Regions from separate parts of the Homo sapiens genome. Here region 1 is linked to region 2. The links are contacts of gene promoters, found by promoter capture Hi-C in human tissues and cell types (Jung and others, 2019). All regions are on one chromosome and are shown on one strand. The core of a region is centred on a gene start or on the middle of the fragment in contact, and the rest is flanking DNA. Distances in the headings are between cores, read along the strand shown.

The links. The method cuts DNA at HindIII sites, captures the fragments that hold promoters and counts their contacts. A contact is called where the count stands out against the background at its distance.
Region 1: a fragment that was not itself captured here is called in contact with the fragment with the promoter of SNRPD1 in region 2 in 3 of the 25 tissues and cell types used here (aorta, heart right ventricle and mesenchymal stem cells).

What each region holds. Positions count from the first base shown.
Region 1 is chr18:21,444,392-21,451,426 of GRCh38, reverse strand. GREB1L (GREB1 like retinoic acid receptor coactivator) reads right to left here. Exons shown (of 33, transcript NM_001142966.3): 11 at 7,018-7,035; 12 at 1,591-1,917; 13 at 276-404. GREB1L-AS1 (GREB1L antisense RNA 1) reads left to right here and starts at 380. Exons shown (of 4, transcript NR_187982.1): 1 at 380-544. LOC124900410 (small nucleolar RNA SNORD23) reads left to right here and starts at 671; the gene lies at 671-774. The HindIII fragment of the contact is 3,848 bases long and covers 1-3,301 here.
Region 2 is chr18:21,610,188-21,616,477 of GRCh38, reverse strand. It overlaps SNRPD1 (small nuclear ribonucleoprotein D1 polypeptide), which reads right to left and starts at 4,164. Exons shown (of 4, transcript NM_006938.4): 1 at 4,035-4,164. The coding sequence starts at 4,048. RefSeq lists an enhancer at 4,016-4,105 and a silencer at 4,366-4,415. The HindIII fragment of the contact is 13,798 bases long and covers 1-6,290 here.

The DNA of each region.
Region 1 (7,035 bases), core at 128-2,627, 160 kb after region 2:
CAAACCGAGTTCCAGGGAGAGAGAAACTCGCCCAAGGTCACTCAACAAGGTTGTGGCTGAGCTGAGACTTTTGAATCCAGTACCAATGGGCCTTCCTCTAGACCCCCTTACTGCTTCCTGTGGTGTTAGTGACAAAATACTTAGGATAAACCATTTCAAATGAAAGATCAGCTGGCAAGCTTGAGCTCCACACTCATCTTGACAGGCTAAGATTTAAACTCAGAAAATCATACAACTAGGGGCTGCCAGTGTTGCCAAATCTTACAACCACTCACCTAATGATGTGGTTTTGAAATGTGATGCCAGGAAACTGACCTTTCCTGTGATAAGCTCATAACTAATTTCTTTCAAAAACTCACTTGTGGTGAGCATGCTCTCTGCCAGAGCTCGGGACTGGTGCTGACCTGCAGGATGGAGGAGAGAAGAGAAGACTCATCAACAGAACAAATGTTGCTGGAACATTACTTATAATGGCAACAATTGGAAACAATCAAAGGATGTCACTATAGGGACTTGGGTTAAGAAAATTATGACACATCAAAAGGTATGGACAATTATATAGCATTTGAAATATCAATTCTGACTCTAGACAGAAACAGAAATGTTTATAATACAGATGATCAGGGGAACAAAATGATGTACCTTATGTAACTGAAAATATGCACGTTTGTGTTTAATGACTAAGGAAGGTCCCTGTCCCCGCCAGGGGCTGTGAGCAACACCATGGCTGCCCCAGGGCTGGCCAATTGGGCAGATGCCCAGGGGCTGAGAACATGGGGGAAAAACAGACTAGGGAAGAGTATGAAAAACCTTATAAAAATTGTGCTTGCATGGTTATAATGAATTTGCTTTAAAAATATAAACATGTTTTTTACAAATAAAAATGAAAAAATATTAATGTATCACACTGATGAAGCTTTCTGGAAATACATGTAGCACAGAAAAATGGGCAGACAGGTTTTGTCAAAGTGAGGGGGTTTTCTTAGCTTCTTTGCTGGAAGAGGTGAGAGCCATTCAGTACAGAGAAGAGAGAAGCAAAATGTAGTCCAAATGGCTACCCAAGAGGGTGCCTGATAGAAAATCTGCACAGTGCAAAACAAACAAACAAAAATCCCCTCCCACCCCCCAATTTTGTAGTGTACCAACTTTCTGAATCTTTTCTTTAGAGACTATGTTACAATATTAAATAGACTGTTCAGTGAGAAGGGGAATATATGAGCTAATTTTCTGGCAAATTCGATTAACTGGCTTAGGCCACCTGTGGCACTGGCTTTATCACATGCTAGAGTAGTAACATTTCCAAAATCTTTAAAGGACAGCAGTTACATGAGACAGGGGTATCTGTTACTAGGGAGAGCTTTGAAATAATGCTCCCACAACCAGCTGACAGGGGCACCAGCCAAACTGAGGGCTACACAAAACCTGATCTGAGAAGGAAAGGGAAAGTTAAAATTAGGAGGATGAGCCCAAGCTCCAGCAATTAATCAGAGGTTGATTATGTGGATGCCTGAAACACATAACACACATTTTTAAATGGAAAAATGGTCGAATGAATTGATTAAACAAACAAAAAACAAAAAAATTACTCACCTAACACTACCACACAAAATTCATTTCCTCTGATTTTCGATGCACAAATTACCACCACATAATCTGGCAGCCTTTGATAGTGTCTCATTTCACTGAGAGTCCTTAAGGTCTCTGAAATGCCCTCCGCCAAAGAGTTCTGGGTCACAACCACATGAACCAAGTCTTGAGATACGCTGGCAATTAATCTAGCAAGCCAGGGGAGTTGTCCTGGTGACACAGGGACACACTGAGCACCTATCTGCAGGGCTCTTTCTCTCAGAGTAAATTCTTGCATAGCTTTCAGCATAATTTGCTCAAATTCTTCCCTGAGAGGTACCTGATCAGGACCTATATAGAAGAGAATTACAGCTGGAATTTAAAGAATCACAGGGAGGAGAGACACACACACCCATATGCTTTCCTGCAGTCCTTCTCAGCCCATCATACATACTCCAACTAGAAAATAACCTCTTTTTCTTGGAGTGGTCACAAGTATAGAGTCCCTACTAATCATTCCCTGTTGGAAATTATTTTTCTTTCTGCCTCAATCTTTGTAAAAAAAATCAGGCTTCTGTTTTTCTGTATTCCTGATCTCTTTAAAAGAGGAGGTACCAAGAGAAACCATTAATTCCACTGTATGCCCTCGGAGCTGGTCCTTGCACATGGCATATTTCTTGACCTATTAAGCTTGGCATTATAGAAATTGTTAATGACTAATGAAAAAAGAAGCCAACCTACTGGTATATAACCGATTTTAAGTTTCAGTTCTCATTTTAGTCATAGGCATTTTGGAAAACATTTTAATGTGTTGCTTCTAAGCCTAATTTTGAGAATACTGTGCAGGAAATGAAGTTTAATTATTTTTCACTCCCAAGTGATATTGGAGGCAGCCTCACATTTTTCCCAGATAGAGAACGCTTTCATGATCTAGTTATTCCCCAGCATTCTGGATTGTTAAATATGCCATTTGGCCCTCTTCTCCAACCAGTTGGAGCAAAACTTATACTGCTGACCTGTGGCCCCTGGAATCAGGGGGATTTTCTTCCTTATTCTCTTTAGAAACTCAACCAGCCTTTAGAACAAAATAAGCAAGTCAATGTTTGGTATCCAAATGACACAAATGAACTAAGATTTCAACATTTAGTTTAAATTGAAAGCAGTGAGAATACAGTCACTCCCTCTATTCAATCATTTCTTTTGCTGTGTGAACCCAATATTTGAAACTCAGGCTCCCATAAACCAGCTCAGACACCTCAGTGTCTGTGATCTGAGACCAAGCAACAGCCCCAGAACCCATGGCTAAAAGCCCCTTATGGAAGAACAAAGGGGTGATGGGCTGGACTTCTGCATGAGAAGGAGGCACCACAAATGAGTCAGACCCATTCCTTCCTCTAATAGGGATCTAAGTGGTTTCTCTGGCCCTTCCCATCTTTTCTGGGAAAGTAAGAAAATGAGGTGTTTAGTAATGCTCTTCAGATATGGAAAATTAAATAAAATCTTATACATTATAAAAACAACAATTTTAATTGGAGAAAACAGTTTTTCCAGGATTGGGTGGAGGCCAGGGAGAGGTAGGAGAGTAGAATTCTCATAAACAGATTTTTCTCCTCTATACATGGAAACAGGGCAAGAAAATGGTAATGTATACATTATGTCTGTGTTTCTTCTATGCTGCTGCTGCTGCTTTTTTTTTTTTTTGAGACAGTTTCCCTTTGTCATCCAGGCTGGAGTGCAGTGGCGCGATCTCGGCTCACTGCAACCTCCACCTCCTGGCCTCAAGCAATTCTCCTGTCTCAGCCTCCGGAGTATCTGGGATTACAGGCATGCCCAACATGCCTGGCTAATTTTTGTATTTTTGATAGAGATGGGGTTTCACCATGTTGGCCAGACTGCTCTCAAACTCCTGACCTCAAGTATCCACCCTATTCAGCCTCCCAAAGTGTTGGGATTACAGGTGTGAGCCACCGTGCCTGGCCTCTACTGTCCTCAAAAAACTTGCTGGGAATGTGGAGGGATGCTCTTTAAAAAAAAATCACCTAGGAGCCACCAAGATGTCTGATCTTCATTCAGCTTTATCAAATTGGCATCATGGTTAATTGTCACTAGGTAAACACTTTTCAGTGAGCTCAAAGTGGATAGAAGGTGGTCATTTATTTAACGCTTTCTTCCACCAGAACATGACAGCTGAAAAGCAGGTGGCCCTGGCTGTCTCCAATTCCCTACCGTCTTTCATTAACAACCTGAAAGCTCAGGGGCCTGGTTAGTAGTCCATAAGACTCACTCCAGGACTAAGTAACATATTCTATCAGGAGGCATAATTAATTGAAAGCACAAAGGCATTCTGGGAAAATAAAATTACTAAACATGTTCACAACATCCTTTGTTGCCTTAAAGCTCGCTTTTATACAGTTTTGACTGATGTACAATTAGGAATCAAGAAGTGGAGGAAAAGGTATTAAGTTTAAATGAGGTAAGAGACTTCTTAGAGTAAAATGCCTTGTTTCCAAAAATCAACTATCACTTTTTCATCCTCAGCCTTTTAAAAAAATTTTTTTTTTAAATTTTTTTAATTAGAGACAGGGTCTCTGTCTGTCTGCCAGGCTGGAGTACAGTGGCACAATCATAGCTCACTGCAGTTCTGAACTTCTGGGCTCAAGTGATCCTTCTGCCTCAGCCTCCCAAGGTGCTGAGATTACAAGCGTGAGCCACCACACCCAGTACCTCATCCTCAGCCTTTACAATTACATTGCAGGTGTCTTTTCTCCACTTTCGCAAGCTTGATAACAATAATCTTTTCCTTCAAGTGCTGATCTCCAATAACTTAGGTTAGCTGAGGTATCAGTTTTAATGACTTTTCAGAAAGAACTACCTTAATAGGAAAAGTCAAGGTTTAAATAGACTCAGAGCCTTACAAGAATCTCTGGATTTGCTGATTTCATTATCTACTTCAAAGATTTTCTGACTGTGAAATGACTGAGATTTTTTAAAAGTGACTGTAGTGAAGAGGTATGGTTCCTTCTGAAGAATCTTGCTTTTCTTCTTCTCTGATACCTCTAAGTAACTGAGCCGCTGAAGTATTAAAAATCCTTTTAGAAGTTTAGATTTATTTTTTTAAATGTCTATAATCTATGCCATATGTGAAACTATTCTTGCTTGCCTTCTTGAAACCTCCAGAGGCAAGAAATAAAGAAATAAATAAATAATAAATAAATAAAGGACTCCAGAACAGTTGTTGAGGGATAGAGATGTCTCAATGTACAAAGCTTAGGTTTTAAAAGAGAAATAGCTATTCATGTATATCGAGAGGCCTAACTGATTGACTGCAAGTCAAATTCAGGAAAGAACTGATCCTGCAGGTCAGAGAAGAATCTGTGTAATTAAATTGAAATTGTTTCTTTTTTTCTTTTCTTTTCTTTTTCTTTACAAAAGATAAGAGCATTTAGTACTTTAAGAAAAGATATCTTATTTTGACCACTTGGTTCATTTAATTAAATTAGACTCCGATTTTAAAAATTGCTATTAAGATTGAAAAGGAGGCCGGGCGTGGTGACTCATGCCTGTAATCCCAACTTTGGGAGCCCAAGGCAGGTGGATCACCTGAGATCAGGAGTTTGAGACCAGCCTGGCCAACATGGTGAAACCCTGTCTCTACTAAAAATACAAAAATTAGCAGGGTGTGGTGGTTCACGCCTGTAGTCCCAGCTACTCGGGAGGCTGAGACATGAGAATTGCTTGAACATGGGAGGTGGTGGTTGCAGTGAGTCGAGATCGCACCACTGCACTCCAGCCTGGGAAACAGAGTGAGACTCGGTCTCAAAACAAACAAACAAATAATCAAACAAACAAACAAACTGAAAAAGAGTGCTATAGTGATTTTCTTGGTTGGCTATATCATCACTTTATGAAGCCTGGTTTTACTAATTCTGGGTGCATTTAGAAGTTGGCTTTAGATCTTAGAACACAGTCTATAATCTAATTTCAGTATGTAGCAATTAAAATTATGTCATCAAATGAGCTGTGGACCCAGATGAGCTTTATAATTGTATTACCTTTCAATAAGCATCATTAGTAAGTCCTAGGTTTATCATGAAATTGGTGCCTTGTAAATTTCAAAAGGCCATGTCGAAGCAGAGGCCAAGTCAAGGCAGCCTCTCAGGGCACAGAGTTCTAGTCAAGATTGCTAGCTAATGCACCAAACACTGAATATGCCCTAATAAAGCTTTTTTCTTTCTTTTAAAGTTATTTAGTCCAGTGTTTTTATTATCTCCTAACACTGAAGTATTTTCTAAAATTAAAAAATTTCACAAGAGTGCATACTAATATTTTTATGTGTAATTTTACATCTCAAATATTTTTTTCTTTTCTTTTCTTTTCTTTTTTTTTGAGATGGAGTTTCACTCTTGTTGCCCAAGCTGGAGTGCAATGACGTGATCTGGGCTCACTGCAACCTCCGCCTCCCGGGTTCAAGCAATTCTTTTGCCTCAGCCTCCTGAGTAGCTGGGATTACAGGCATGCGCCACCACGCCCAGCTAATTTTGTATTTTTAGTAGAGATGGGGTTTCTCCATGTTGGTCAGGCTGGTCTCGAACTCCCCACCTCAGGTGATCCGCCCACCTTGGCCTCCCAAAGTGTTGGGATCACGGGCGTGAGCCACCGTGCCCGGCCACATCTCAAATATTTTTCTAAGTAAATCAGTGGCTTGAAGTGATAGAGTGAGTGTATAATTAGATGGCCTACTGCCATTTGCAAAATAAAGGACATTTCGATGTAAATGCTGCTAAGCCACTCTAGTATTGTCAGGGCACCTGCATACACCCACTTTGGGGCTTCGGAGAATATATCAGATAGAGGAAGTGAAGGGTTCATGACCTACATATCCCCCTTACCCTATAGCTTAAAGACCTTCCAGGGAGGTCCACAGTTATGACCTCAATGATGGAAAGCACGATGGGACTCCATCAAAGGGGTGTAGCTGGAGAAGAAAAAAAATGGGTGTAGGGCCAGTGGATAAACAAGATAAAAAGGCTAAGTGGAAAACTGGAAAATAATTGTTTAAGACAATGGCTGTGTTTGCACTCCAGATGGTAGGTGCACTTTCAGAAAGGTGGCCTGGCCAAGCTCCCCAGAGAAGGGGTGCTCAAGGCACAACCCTTTAAGGTTCTGCCTACCTTAACTACTTTGGAGACCTTTGCAGCATCATGAGACTGGACACTAGGTGGTGCAATTCATCTCCTCTAGGACCCAAAGAAGAGGAAAGGAAAGGAGTAGAAAAGAAATGAAGGAGAGGAAAGGGAAAAGTTACAGAGAATGGGGTTGAAGGGAAAGAACATTAGAAGCGAAAGAGGGAAAATAAGAGATAGGAGGATAAATGTGAGAAAGAAAGAAAAAGTACATCACAAAAAATCCTCAAAAGTAGTCACCAGCAAATGATTATGGAAAATGACTTACCCAGCCGCACAAGATACT
Region 2 (6,290 bases), core at 2,915-5,414:
GCTGAGGTAGGAGAATCGCTTGAACCTGGAAGGCAGAGGTTGCAGTGAGCTGAGATCGCACAATTGTACTCCAGCCTGAGCTACAAGAAGAGAGACACTATTAAGGAAATGAACATGTAAACCACACACTGAGAGAAAACACATCTGACAAAGAACTGGTATCCAGGACACAGATCTAATTTCTACAACTCTGGGCTGGGCGCAGTGGCTCACGCCAGTAATCCCAGCACTTTGGGAGGCCAAGGCGGGCGGATCACGAGGTCAGGAGATTGAGAACATCCTGGCTAACACGGTGAAATCCCGTCTCTACTAAAAATACAAAAAATTAGCCGGGCGTGGTGGCAGGCGCCTGTAGTCCCAGCTACTCGGGAGGCTGAGGCAGGAGAATGGCGTGAACCCAGGAGGCGGAGCTTGCAGTGAACCAAGATCATGCCACTGCACTCCAGCCTGGGTGACAGAGTGAGACTCCGCCTCAAAAACAAACAAATAAGCAAAAAACCGACTAAACCCTAAGGAGATACCACTACATACCCACTAAAATGGCTAAAATTAAAGACTGAGCAAACAACACCACATACTGGTGAGGATGTGGACCAATTGTTATTCTAATATATTGTTAATGGAAGTGTAAAATGGTACAACCACTTTGGAAAATGGTCTGGAAATTTCTTAAAAAGCTAAACACATAACTATGTTACAGTCCATCAACTCCACTCGAGTATTTACCCACGAAAATTTGTTTCCCTCCAAAAACCTGAAGAATATTCAACGTAGTTGTAAACAAAATACATAACTTTTTATTTTATTTTCTTGTAATTTTTTAAAATACGGAGCTTTTTTTTTCTTTTTTCTTTTTTTTTGAGACGGAGTCTCGCTCTGTTGCCCAAGCTGGAGTGCAATGGCGTGATCTCAGCTCACTGCAATCTCCACCTCCTGGGTTCAAGGGATTCTCCTGCCTCAGCCTCCCTTGTAGCTGGGATTACAGGCACCTGCCACCATGCCCAGCTACTTTTTTGGTATTTTTAGTAGAGATGGGGTTTCACCATGTTGGTCAGGCTGGTTTCAAACTCCTGACCTCAGGTGATCTACCCGCCTCGGCCTCCCAAAGTGCTGGGATTACAGACGTGAGCCACTGCGCCCGGCCTAAAATACAGAACTTCCAAACACACAATGCACTAATATCCAGTAATAAAAATGAACACATTACTGATACACTTCACAATGTGGATGAATCTCAAAAACATGTAACTAAAAGAAGTTTTACGCAAAAATACTTTGTGATTCCAAATATATGAAATTCTAGCGCAGGCAAAATTCATTTCTGGTGGAAGAAACTGGTTGCATCTAGGGGTATGGAGCCAGAGGTTGCCTGGGAAAGGCTTGAGGAAACTGTCTGAGGTTTTGGTAATGTTACTTCTGTTGATATGGGTTTAGGTTACAAAAGTGTTTACATTTTTCAATAGCAGGAAATATACACTGCATTTCATTGTATAAGATATTTACCTTAAAGAAGGAAAACAAAAATCCATGAGTGGGATAAAAAGGGCCTGAACTTAATGGTGGTGACTGGAATGAAAGGCTACTATGGGCAGGACAAATACACAATTATCCCTCCCTAACTGAGCCCAGGAACCAAATGGATTCAAATTATTTTCAGATGAATCTTTCACTGTCTGAATTCTTTCCACTTAGTGAAACTTGGATATCAAATAGTAACACAGTGTCCCTCAGTATAAAACACACTATTTGAACCCAAAAACCAAACAGGATAATGTGGGTCACTTTTATGAAGTAGGTAAAACTGGCAAAATTGGCAATGTATCAAATGTCAAGGACATCAGGAGAGAAAAAGTCAAGCTCACCTCCCAGGTTTTTGGTTAGGGTGACAGTGAGAATAAGGATGACAATGCTGCCAACTGAGATACAGAAATAAATCTACTGAAAATGCAAACCAGTTAGTCAAACAATCATTTTCTGGAGGAAAAATACATTCTCTGGTAAGAAAAAAAATTTGTTTCTATATTTTACCTAAGACACAAAACAGGATTCAGTACAGGTATTAAAAATTACTGGAAAATTGTCATAACATGCAGTATCTTTAAAGGGAACAAATGGAATCCAAGGTGTATTACACAAAATTGAACTATGAGTGGATTAAGATTCAGATTGGCAGGTATGGAGAAATTTCAAAAAATGTAATTTTCTTTTTTTGAGACCGAGTCTCACTCTGTTGCCCAGGCTGGAGTGCAGTGGTGCGATCTCAGCTCACTGCAACCTCCCAGGATCAAGTGATCCTCTTACCTCAGCCTCCTGAGTAGCTGGGATTACAGGCGCCCGCCACCATGCCCGGCTAATTTTTGTATTTTTTCGAAAGAATGGGTTTCACCACGTTGGCCAGGCAGGTCCTGAACTCCTGACCTCAGGCGATCCGCCTGCCTCAGCCTCCCAAAGTGTTGGGATTACAGGCGTGAGCCACCACGTCCAGCCTAAAAAATGCACTTTAAATTCTATGACTTCCTATCCAAAGTTATAGTTCAAATAAAAATATACCAAAAATTAACCTTAAATGTCTTTTGTACCAACTCCTCCCTGAATATAATTTTTTTTTTTTTTTTTTTTTTTTGAGATGGAGTCTCGCTCTGTCGCCCAGGCTGGAGCGTAGTGCCACGATATCGGCTCACTGCAACCTCTGCCGCCTGGGTTCAAGCGATTCTCCTGCCTCAGCCTCCTGAGTAGCTGGGATTAAAGGCGCGCGCCACCACGCCCCACTAACTTTTGTAATTTTCGTAGAGACGGGGTTTCACCATGTTGGTCAGGCTGGTCTCGAACTCCTGACCTAGTGATCCACCCGCCTTGGCCTCCCAAAGTGCTGGGATTACAGACGTGAGCCACTGCGCCTGGCCTCCTCCCTGAGTGTTGAAGGCTTTTATGTGTTATTTAAAACGTTTCAAACAAACGTTACTTCAGACGTTATCTACTTGTCTGTCATCCCCACTAACCAGAAAACTCCAACAAGGCAGGTACTCTGCCTTTTAAAAAATCCTATTACCAGCGCCTAGTATGTAACAGGTGCCCAATAACTATTTAGCGGATATTGACAATCCTTGACTCAACAGGAAAAAAACAAGCTAAATATTTATAATTGCTGGCTTAGCTATTAGAAACGTCTGCCTCTGTTCCAGGCTTAGTCTCAAGGAAAAACACCAAAACCAAATCTACTTGCAGGTAGTTTAGAATTATTCACATCAGCAAACAAGTTTTCAGAAGACTCACCTAACTGACAGGGTCTATTTATTTCTTAAGAAATAAAACAGGAGAACTATATATTATCTGAGTAATCAGCCACAATTACGTTGTGATAATTTCTGCCCTATATTGGGAGATTTTCCTAAATAAAAAGCCTACCTTAAAGGGAAATAGAGGTGGAATAATCAATCACAAATCTAAGGAGGATAAAAAGGTAAACTTAAAAATCGGCCGGGCACGGTGGCTCAAACCTGTAATCTCAGCCCTTTGGAAGGGCGAGGCGGGCAGAAAGCTTGAGCCCAGGAGTTCGAGACCAGCCTGGTCAACAAAGTGAGACACCATCTTTATTTAAAAAAACAAAAACTTGTGAAGCCGGAAGTCCTTCTCTGATTTAAAATATTTTGCAAACAGGTTTGTTTCCAGATAAGCTCATACAGCTTTCTAAGTACTGTTAAGCAGGACTGGGGAGTTCCACTCAAAAAGAAAATGAGTAACTGTAAGAGGGAGATGTGTCCCAGGAGGCGCTGCATCTTTAAAGCCTCTAAGTCACTAGGCAGGAAGAAAAGGCTCGGCCTTTATACCAATCTCTTGGAAGACACGCGGGATCCGCGAGCGACCCAGGCGGAAGCCCAGGCCCGAGCACGAGCTGCGGGCGCAGTAAGGCCGGCCGTTAGCAGGCCGCGCACACGCGGCTTTCCCGCCTCCTGCAAATGGGAGAGCCCAGCCTTCCGGACTCCGGGCCAAGCCCTCCCTTCACAGCCCCCAGAGCTGCTTGGTCACTCCCTCACCTCACGAGCTTCATCCTAGCGGCGCCGTCACCCTCTGGGTCCGACAGCACACAGAATCCTTCAACCGAACACTGACCGACTGCAGTATGAATGGCCGGAAGCGCCTACTCCAGGGGCTCCGGACGTCAAGAGCGCGCGGAGCACTGCAGGCGCATGGCGGAAACGCCGAGGCTGCGCTGGGCCGCACTCTCTTCCGGCCGCGAGGAGCGCGACTGCGGCCCCTGGCGGCTGGAGGTTGCCTTGCGACGGCTGAGGGTATCGAGGGCTGGTCTTGGAGAAAAATGTCCTACAAGAGAGGGAGATTCGAAGAGATTAAATCCAATTAATAGGACTGTCGCATTTTGGGAGGCCGAAGCGGGGGTATCACCTGAGGTCAGGAGTTCAAGACCAGCCTGGCCAACAGGGTGAAACCCCCGTCTCTACTAAAAAGACAAAAAATTAGCTGGGCGTGGTGGCGGGCGCATGTAATCCCAGCTACTCGGAAGGCTGAGGCAGGGGAATCGCTTGAACCCGGGAGGCGGAGGCTGCAGTGAGCGGAGATCGCACCACTACACTCCTGCCTGGGCAACAAGAACGAAACTCCGTCTCCCAAAAAAAAAAAAAAAAAAAAAAAGTACTGTCACCATCACGTTTCTGAACAGCAGGGCACTGTGAGTGCAGCACCTAATACAAATTCCTCACTGAACGGAAAGAAGGTCTTAGAGAAGCCCAAAGTCTTATGCTGATTCTGTTCCAACACCAGGAACCTAGCATTGCTTACTGTACCTGAAGCAAATCACACAATGGGCCAGGCGCTGTGGCTCAAGCCTGTAATTCCAGCACTTTGGGAGGCCGAGGCGGGCAGATAGCGAGGTCAAGAGATCGAGACCATTCTGGCCAACATGGTGAAACCCCGCCTCTACTAAAAATACAAAAATTAGCGGGGCGTGGTGATGCGCGCCTGTAGTCCCAGCTATTCGGGAGGCTGAGGCAGGAGAATCGCTTGAACCCAGGAGGTGGAGGTTGCAGTGAGCTGAGATCGTGCCACTGCACTCCAGCCTGGCAACAGAGCGAGACTCCGTCTCAAAAAATAATAATAATAAAAATAAAATCCACAATGTAGCAGATTATTTTCACTTTAAGTTCCAATCTATAAGACAAACTTTTCAGTCTTCATCTTTCTCAACATCTCATCAAAATATATATATTTTTTATTTTTTTGAGATGGAGTCTCACTCTGTCGCCCAGGCCGGAGTGCAGTAGCGCGATCTCAGCTCACTGCAACCCTTGCCTCCCGGTTTCAAGCCATTCTCGTGCCTCAGCCTCTCCAGTAACTGAGATTACAGGCGCGCATCACCATGGCCCGCTAATTATCGTCTTTTTATGTATGTATGTATGTACGTACGTATGTATGTATTTTGAGACAGAGTCTCCCTCTGTCGCCCAGGCTGTAGTGCAGTGGCGCGATCTCGGCTCACTGCAAGCTCCGCCTTCCGGGTTCACGCTATTCTCCTGCCTCGGCCTCCCAAGTAGCTGGGACTACAGGCGCCAGCCACCACGCCCGGCTAATTTTTTTGTATTTTTAGTAGAGACGGGGTTAGCCAGGATGGTTTCGATCTCCTGACCTCGTGATCCGCCCGCCTCGGCCTCCCAAAGTGCTGGGATTATAGGCGTGAGCCACCGCGCCCGGCATTATTGTCTCTTTAGTATGTGAGCTTCATCAAAATTTAACACAAACACTCCCCTTCCCTCTTTCGGGTTTCAGGATGCCAAGCTCACCTGGCCTTTTTCCTTATCCTACTAACTACTCTTGCTTTGTTTTGTTTTGTTTATAGACAGGGTTTCTCGCTCTGTTGCCCAGGCAGGAGTGCAATGGCACAATCAGGGCTCACTGCAGCCTTGACCGTCTGGGCTCAAGCTATCCTCCTGCCTCAGCCTTCTCAGTAGCTGGGACCACAAGTGCGTGCCACCATGCCCAGCTAATATTTTATTTTTTATTTCGTAGAGAAGAGGTCTTACTATGTTGCCCAGGCTAGTATCCAACTCCTGGGCTCAAGAGATTCCACTGCCGTGGCCTCCCAAAGTACTGGGTTTACAGGCCCAGAGCCTCCATGCCCAGCCTCTAACTACTCTTTCTAAATCTCCTTAGCTGGTTCCTCCTTCCCTATGGAGCCAATACATGTCACAGTGTTTCCCGGCTTGTGGCTGTAGTCTTTTTATGTATACTTTTTCTTTTAACCTGGTAATCTCCTCCAAAACCATGACTTTGATTTGTAT